2 separate regions of the Homo sapiens genome follow, and region 1 is linked to region 2. Evidence: promoter capture Hi-C in 16 types of primary human blood cells and fetal thymus (Javierre and others, 2016). All regions are on one chromosome and are shown on one strand. Each heading gives the region's core, a stretch centred on a gene start or on the middle of the fragment in contact. The rest is flanking DNA. Distances are from core to core; before and after follow the strand shown. Region 1 has its middle 16 kb from the start of SPATA3-AS1. Region 2 holds the start of ITM2C (integral membrane protein 2C).

The links. The method cuts DNA at HindIII sites, captures the fragments that hold promoters and counts their contacts. A CHiCAGO score of 5 or more calls a contact.
Region 1: a contact is called between a fragment that was not itself captured here and the fragment with the promoter of ITM2C in region 2, in 4 of 17 cell types (naive CD8 T cells, naive CD4 T cells, activated CD4 T cells and 1 more). The highest score is 8.4, in naive CD8 T cells.

What each region holds. Positions count from the first base shown.
Region 1 is chr2:230,977,383-230,981,943 of GRCh38, forward strand. No RefSeq gene overlaps it. Among named protein-coding and RNA genes, the nearest start is that of SPATA3-AS1, 16 kb to the right of the region's middle. RefSeq lists an enhancer at 4,368-4,507. The HindIII fragment of the contact is 9,305 bases long and covers 1-4,561 here.
Region 2 is chr2:230,863,111-230,867,585 of GRCh38, forward strand. It overlaps ITM2C (integral membrane protein 2C), which reads left to right and starts at 1,832. Exons shown (of 6, transcript NM_030926.6): 1 at 1,832-2,035. The coding sequence starts at 1,916. RefSeq lists enhancers at 516-1,174, 1,833-2,491, 2,492-3,148 and silencers at 1,582-1,951, 2,052-2,141, 2,932-3,031. The HindIII fragment of the contact is 7,451 bases long and covers 1-3,505 here.

The DNA of each region.
Region 1 (4,561 bases), core at 1,312-3,811, 120 kb after region 2:
AAATAAATTCATAGTGTTTTATCTAATTAACCTGCCTTTTGTGAGTTGATTTTTGTGCAAACTTTCTGAGAGCGAAGGGGAAGTTTTCACGGGTATTGCATGGTCTTCTGAAATAACTAGCATTAATATAGATTAGACAAAAACCAACCCTGAACAGGTTCCATGTGACAGCAGAATGTTCTGAAATGGGAAGGAATGAATGTGAGCATGAGAGGTCTGTGTGAACGGATAATGAGGTTCGGGGTAAGATGCAAAGGAGGATATATATTATACCATCTTTCATATGGAAAGAAGAGAAAATGAATACGTGTATGTGTTATTTTTGTGAAAAGAAATACAGTATTAAACAGACACTAATGGAAGGCATTCACCGTGGAGGTGGGAAGGAATGGGGTAGAAGGGATAGGAACGGCAGTGAGGCTTCTCTTGTATATCTCATATCATTGTCACTTTTTATTTTTTTATTTTTTCAGAGACGGGGTCTCGCTCTCTCACCAAGGTTGGAGTGCAGTGGCTCACTGGAGCCTCAGCCTCCTGGGCTCAAGCAATCCTCCTGCTTCAGCCTCCCAGTGGCACACGCCACCGTACCCAGCTATTTATTTATTTATTTATTCATTTATTTATTTATTTATTTATTTTTGTAGAAATGAGGTCTTCCTACGTTGCCCAGGCTGGTCTCAAACTCCTGGGCTCAAGCAATTCTCCCACCTCGGCCTCCCAAAGTGCTGGGATTACAGGTGTGAGCCACTATTCTCAACCCATTTTTACTTTTTAACTACATAAATGTTTCACGTATTTTAAAAATAAAATTAAATGTTAAAAAGGTGGGATAAAGAATACCCTACAATAGAATGCAAAAGAAGGAAATCAAACTGATAACGCCTCAAACTGATACCACAACCACACAGAGCAAACACTCTGATTGTGGAGAAGGATCTGTTCTAAGAACAGAAGAACTATAGAAAAACTTCTATTTAGTATGTTTACTGTTAGCAGTAATATTGGTCTTGTAATTCTGAAACTCTTTTGTGCATGTATAGTGGAAAGCAAATAAGCAAATATATATTTTACTGACGGGGAAAAAAGATACTAGTAGTCAGTAAAGAAGTGAAAGAAAAACTGTAATGTTAAATTTGAGTAGGAAATATATCAGTTTGAACTTGTAATTTTTTTTAAAATGAGTTTTCTAATCCTGTCCACTGAATGACAGCCGAGTAGCAATGATCGCATATATCACCAGGTTCTTTCTTTCTCTATACCATTCACCACTAAAGGCACCAGGGCTCGTTAGAGAAATGGTAGATTCTAGGTCAGGGGTGAAAATGTACAACGTGAGCATGGAATCTCTTGTCACACCAGAAAGCAAAACAGTTTTGGAAGATAAATGTGATCATGTCAAAAGGATTCAGGAGCTGACCTGAGGGCTCCCACTGCTCAAATGTGGGATGATTTGAACATCAAAATGAATAACTGTAGTTTCAATTATAGCATTTTTAAAACTCCACGAACCCACAGTGATTAATGTTTTTAATATAGTGGGATTTGGAAATTCTTACAGAAAAAAAGGCCAGCTAGTAAATGTAGCAGGAATAAAAGAATGAAAAACTACCATTTTCCAACCTCCAATGTAATGCTTCCTTCAGGTAAGCATCACCAAGAGTTGCCAAAACTGTTTGGTGACTTGGATATTCAGTTAATCCTGTGACCATGTGAAGATTCTAAAAATTACTTACAAAAGGGGAAGCAGAGTGAGGATTAGTGATCAAACTCAGAATGACCAAGAGTGGCTGACATTATGTACTCCAGATGTGATGCCTGACATTATTTACTCCAGATGTGATACCTGACATTATTTACTCCAGATGTGATACTGACATTATGTACTCCAGATGTGATACCTGACATTATTTACTCCAGATGTGATACCTGACATTACTTACTGCAGAAGTGATACTGACATTATTTACTCCAGATGTGATGCCTGACATTATTAACTCCAGATGTGATGCCTGACATTATTTACTCCAGTTGCGATACTGACATTATTTACTCCCGATGTGATACCTGATGTTATTTACTCCAGATGTGATACTGATGTTTTTTACTGCAGATGTGATACCTGACATTATTTACTCCAGATGTGATACTGACATTATTTACTCCAGATGTGATGCCTGACATTATTTACTCCAGATGTGATAACTGACATTATTTACTGCAGATGTGATACTGACATTATTTATTCCAGATGTAATGCCTGACATTATTTACTCCAGGTGTGATACTGACATTATTTACTGCAGATGTGATACCTGACATTATTTACTCCAGATGTGATATTGACATTATTTACTCCAGATGTGATACTGACATTATTTACTCCAGATGTGATACCTGACATTATTTACTCCAGATGTGATGCCTGACATTATTTACTCCAGATGTGATACTGACATTATTTACTCCAGATGTGATACTGACATTATTTACTCCAGATGTGATACTGACATTATTTACTCCAGATGTGATACCTGACATTATTTACTCCAGATGTGATAACTGACATTATTTACTCCAGATGTGATAACTGACATTATTTACTCCAGATGTGATAACTGACATTATTTACTCCAGATGTGATATTGACATTATTTACTCCAGATGTGATGCCTGACATTATTTACTCCAGATGTGATGCCTGACATTATTTACTCCAGATGTGATGCCTGACATTATTTACTCCAGATGTGATAACTGACATTATTTACTCCAGATATGATACTGACATTATTTACTCCAGATGTGATACTGACATTATTTACTCCAGATGTGATACTGACATTATTTACTCCAGTTGTGATGCCTGACATTATTTACTCCAGATGTGATATTGACATTATTTACTCCAGATGTGATACTTGACTGAGAAGTCTACAGTGGCACCTATGCAGTACAGAACTCTGGCCAAAGATATTCAACCTGCATCTAATCTTGTGTAAGCAATCAGATTAACCCACATATGGGACACTCTACAAGACAACTGTCCTGGACTCTTTATCAAAAACTAATTTCACATAAACAAAGAACAACAACAACAATAAAAAGGTGAAAGACTGTTTCAGATGAAAAGAGACTGAAGAGCCATAACAACCAAATATCATACATGATCTTGATTGGATCCTGGATAGGAAAAAAAAATCCAGCATTAAAAGCTCTTCCGGGGACAACTGTAGAGATTTGAATACAGATAGTACACTGGGTGCTATTATGGTTGTGATCATGGTATTGTGGTTTTGTGGGAGAATATCCTTATTAGGAGATGCTGAGATATCTAGAAGTGAAGTGTCAAGATGTCAGCAACTTGCTTTCAAATTGCTCAGCAAAATAAAAGTATGTGGAAATATACAAAGACAGAGAGAGACCAACAGAGACAAAGCAATTGTGGCAAAATGTTAACAGTTGGAGAATCCAGGGTAAGTTCATTGTACTCTTCTTTGAACTTTTCAGAATGTTTGAAAATTTCAAAATAAAATGTGAGGGGGAGGGGAGGGAGTTGCAGGGTGGATAGAGAAGGTTGGGATAGAGCTAGCTGCCAGACCCAAACCATCTGCCACCAACACAGGGAGTTTAAAATGGCCCTCTAAATTACAATAGACTCATCTTCGTTTTGAAATCTTCCTAGGACGGGTGCAGAGGCTCATGTCTGTAATCCCAGCTACTCAGGAGTCTGAGGCACAAGAATCACTTGAACCTGGGAGGCGGAGGTTGGAGTGAGCCTCGATCATGCCACTGCACTCCAGCTGGGGTGACAGAGCAAGACTCTGTCTCAAAAAAAAAAAAAAAAAAAGAAAAAGAAAAACAGAAATCTTCCTAAAAGGAAGAGAAAGCTATACTACACTTTCCTCGAACCTCAAAGCCCCCACTGCTTATAGAAACTTTGAACCCAGTACCCACTGGAAAATAATGAATGGGAAACACACCTGGTAAACACAGTCCAGGTAGAGAGGAAGAGCCTCCCGATGCCCCCAGCCCTGGGTAGGAATCACCAAACCCTACCCCCCAGTTACCAGGCCTGTGAAGCCTCTGGCTTGTCCCAGCTTTGCACTCTTATGGGGAGGGGTGGGGAGAGCCCATCTACCACGCCCGTGTGTCTCCTGTCTTATCATCTAGGACATTCTTACATGGACCTCAGGCACTACTGGGGAAGGCTTTATTCCTTTTCAACACCATCCTCACTCAAAACTGCATTCCTTCATTCATTTGCTTATTTATTCAATGATTTGGCAAGTATTTATTGAACACCAGTGATGCACGAGGCACTGTTTTAGGAACCAGGGACACGACAAGGAATAAGCAGCCGTGGCATCTGTCTTCTGCGGAGCTCACAGGCAAATTGCAACTGTGACAAGTACCACAAAGGGGAGGAACAAGGTGCCCATCAAAGCTGGTGGCATTTGTGTGACAAGCAGGAAATACAATCAACAGGCTTTGGGGATGGGCTGGGTTTGGCGGACGATGAGAAGGAGTGTCAAGAGACACTCCCAGGGTTCTGACTAGTATA
Region 2 (4,475 bases), core at 582-3,081:
GAGGCCCGAGGGGGATGTGCACAGTGCTGAAGGTGCACAGGAAAGGGACTTATCCCAGCCGGTCTGGGAAGGCCTTCCAGGGGAAGTGGGGTGCTCGCCTGCCAATCTCAGGCATGTGGATGCTTCACCCAGGTGGCCCTGTCTTGCTGACCAGAGATTTGTGCCAAACCAGCTCTGCGACCCTGGGTTTAGTCATGCTACCTTCTATCACTATTAACATGAGGCTAATGTGTAGGTCACAGAGGCTGTGATGAAAATTAAATAATTGAATGCACGTGAAAGAATGCCACTCATAGAAGGTTTCACATGACCACATCCTTGGTGGCTGGGTTGTGTCTTGGGCATCTCTGTTTTCTGCCACAGAGCTTAACACAATGCTTGGCACACAGGGGTGCTTGGAAAACACTGAGTGAAGGAATGCATGTTGGGGGTGTGGCCTAAGCAAGACGTGGAGCTTGCCTTCTCCAGACACCAGGTTTCCCATGGGATCTGGAGCAGGTGATGAGCGGTAGTCCATAACACCTTCCTCTCTGGCTCTGTGCCAAACCAGATTCCTCCTCGTCTCCTCCAAACCATCTGTCTTCTTCCACCTCCCCATTCCCTCCCCCCAGTTCCCCAGGCTGGTGGCCTTAGCATCAGTTAGACTTTCTTCTTTCCCCACCTGTCTGTCCTCAAGGTTGCTAGGTTCATCCAAGATCTGAGCCAAGAGGTCCGGGTCTGGGACGTGGGCGCTAAGGGCCCAAGGCAGCTGCAAAAGACCTGAAAGGTGAGAAGAGAGATCAGTGGAGGACCCCGGACTGTCCTCAAGAAGCGGACGGACTCCCCTGCCCTCCACTGGCAGCCCAACAGCAGAACCAAAGCGGACCACTCAGCACAACCTGTGTGTGTTGCTGGGCGCTGTCCCTGGCCCAGTCTGGACCAGGAGCAAAGAGGAAAGATTCAGGGCGTTAGTGCCAAGAGCAGCCATCCCAGCAACAGAAGCCCCTGCTTCCCCAGTACCCGTGATACTTGGGAGGAGCAGAGTCTTGAGTGGAACCCGAGCCTCTGACACCCGCCCTGGGGGTCTTCCCTCCACTCTCGCCAGGGTCCTCCTGGATGAGTGAGACAAGGGCAGTTCAGGAGGTCACCCAATAACTGAGGTCGCAGCAACACGAAGGAGCCAGGGAGCAGGGGCGGCCTTCCCTTCTCCACTCCAGGCGGCTCCAGCGTGCACCCCAGGACCCCCCAGGAAGGTTTTGCAGGAATAAAGAATGAAGGCAGAAGCAAGATGGAGGATGAAGGAGGCGTGGATGGCTTCAGAAGGCAAGACGGAGGCAGCAGTTTGGCGCCTGTCTCAAAGCCTCCTCCCCGCGCCAAGGACAGGTCGGAGGAGGGGGGCGTGGGGACAGGTAGAGCGGAGGCTCCAGCGTTTCTAAAGGGGAAGACCTGAAGTGGGGCAGGAGAGACGGGTGAGTTGTCTGGAAGCTGCATTTGCCTGGCAAACACTGGGTTAACAAAGACTTGCGTTGCGGGGATGCTGGCCTTGGACAGGGAATGCGAAGGGATTATGCTACGGAGAACGGATCCGAGCGTGACGGCTGAATGAATGAGTGAGCGAGTGAGTGAGTGAGTGAGTGAGCGAGCGAGTGAGTGACTGTGCGAGCGAGCGGCAGAAGGAACTCCGACCCGCCCCAGGTGCGGAGCGGCGCGCCCGGCAGGGGTCACTGCGGGCCCCGCGGGCGGGAAGGGGGCGCAGGCGCGGCGGGCGCCGGGGCCCTCCCGCGGGGACGGGGCGGGGAGGGCTGGGGGTGGGGTTAGAGAGAGGGACGCGAGCGGGATCCAAACTTCCGGTGCCTGCAGAGCTCGGAGCGGCGGAGGCAGAGACCGAGGCTGCACCGGCAGAGGCTGCGGGGCGGACGCGCGGGCCGGCGCAGCCATGGTGAAGATTAGCTTCCAGCCCGCCGTGGCTGGCATCAAGGGCGACAAGGCTGACAAGGCGTCGGCGTCGGCCCCTGCGCCGGCCTCGGCCACCGAGATCCTGCTGACGCCGGCTAGGGTGAGAGGGTCTGGGGCTCAGGCGGTGGGGCGGGGGACCCAGGCTCACGACCCAGGCGCGCCCCGTCGGCCCTGGGGACTGCCCGAGGCGCGTCAGGGCCCCAGAGCCCGGGGTGGAGCAGGGTTGGGAAGTCTCGAATGGTTGCTTATCCCAGAATGAGGAGGGGGCTTAAGTCCCGTACTAAAGCGGCAGCCAAAAGCTGAAGTCCGAAGAGTGGGAGGCGTCTGGTTCTGGTCTTCAGGTGGAGAAGTGCTCGAGGTCTCTTCCAAAAGTGGGGGCCCCCTCGCCGCCTTATAGGGGGAGGGGGCTGGTCCGAAGAAGTTCGAGGAATGTTGGTGGGGGGGTACGCGTCTGGTTCCAATCAACTGGGAAAGCCGCGAGTCGAGTCCCCAGGTGGGGGATGGGAGGAGGGTTAGACGTAGTTTTTCCAAAGTAGGGCGGTGGGACCTGATTGGCTGGGGAATTGGGGGTGGGGGGGTCTGGTACCAACGAAGAGGGTGGGGCCGTTGATTTCCTCCGAAATTGGGGGCTGCGAGGGACAGAGGATGTGCTGCTGGCCTGCACCGGAATTGACAGACCAGAAAGTGATGAAATGGAAATCAGCCAGAACCGACGGCGCTGCGGCCTCTGGACGTCGGGGGTCCGAGGCCGGGTGCCCCCTTCCCACCCCACGCCCTGCCGTCTGGGCCTCCCTGCTCCCCTCTCTTTTCTCCATTCCCAGCCTCTCGCTGGGCTGTCCCCCGACCCCACGGGGAGGGCTCCCAACTGCCCCAGTGCCCTTGCATCCTGGGTCCCCGGGCTCTGTGCGCGTTCCCCCACCCCTGTCATCCCCCTCCCCTACCCCGGCTTCCTCCACTTTCCCTCTGGCCGGGGGGGAGAGAAGGCATTTCCGCCGTGGAAAACTGTCTGAGCTGCGTGCCTTGTGTCCGGGAAGGGCCCGCAGGGGGCAGAACGCGTGGCGGGCAGGGACAGGGAGGGAGGGAGAGCTGGCCCAGCCAGGTTTTATTGTGCCTGGCAAAGGTGTCTACGTGGGCGCCGCCCCCAGCGGTCTTGTGGCTTACCAAGCCCATGTCCTCCCCGCCTCCCCACCCCGCATTGAGGCAGGACTGAGAAAGTCTTTGTCCACTGCTTCCCCACTTCCAGATGCAGGCTTCTGAAGAGTCTTCCTGAACGCCTAGCCCCCTCCCCAGGTTTTGTGGCTCAGGTTCAGTCTTGCCTGGGGCATTAAGGGGCCTGCAGAGGATGACCTGGACCCTGGAGGAGGGGGCGCCGGAGAGGGCCGTCAGAGTTGGGTGTCAGCCTGGGCAGAGACCCTGAGTGAGGAATGCCAGGAGACTGAGAACCCCCTGCCCTTTTATGGTGGTCACTGCAGCAACCAGTGGCTCAGAGCCACAAGAGTTCAACAACCACCTAGGCGAGGTTGGGGGTTGCTGTGCACCCCATGAGAGCAGCTCCCCCCTTTTCATCTGAAGCTTAGGTGGAGGGGGCGCTCCATATTTGAAGAAGATGGTTCTGCAGCTTTAAAAGTTTGCAAGGGGTTCTTCAAGACTCCTTTTCTTTGGAAGGGAAGCTGCCCTCCACTCAGCCTGGGGAGGGGCAGGGATGGGGGCAGGAGGCAGCACGCTTGCCCATCTCTTTTCCTAGCCACCTCTTCCTGGAGATATTTGAGGAGGGAGGACCAGGTCAGACAGTGGGAGGGTGTTATTCCAACTCCATCAGAAGGTCCCCCAGATTTTGCAGGAGCGGCACATTCTCCAGCCGCAGCCTGCTGATGGCATGGGTTTGGGCAGTCTGACAGAGACCTGCATCTCGGGGCATAACTGACATCCTAGCTTCTGGCTTCTCATCAGGCTCTGAAATTGAGCGTCCTTTCTTCCCCCTCACCCAGCATGAAATGGAAATATCAACATCTTCCTGCGTGCTGTTTGTAATGGCCTTGAGCCTGCTGAGTACCTCCTCCCTCAAACTTTGTCAGTTGGGCAGGGTCCCCTCCCTCTCTAATTGGCAAGGGGGAGCTTAGGACTATGCGATCTGGGGAAAGAATTAGAATCCTGGCATCTTTAGGACAGAACTGCATGTTAGTAAACTTTCACAGCTTCCCAAGGCCCTGGCGTGGTGCAGAGGGACTTTAGGTGTTGCAAGTTGGCTCTGCCCATCACCTGCTAGATTTGGAGCCTTGGAAACAGTTCACTTCTGCGGGCCTCCTGTTGCCCCACTTGGCCAACCCGCACATTTCCTCCTTACCCAGTTTCTGGCAAGGAGCCAGGCCTCGTCTCCTGCCCCCAGCAGTGAGCAGGCAGGAGGCCCATTTCTCAGCTGTAGCTCTGTGAGCCGAGGGATGGCAGCCAGGAGGCTGCTTTCTCAGGGCAGGGCGTGTAGATTTTGTCCCGTACTGTTGGGAATGCCCAGGAAAGCTTATTAAAACGTTTCTTCTGGCTGG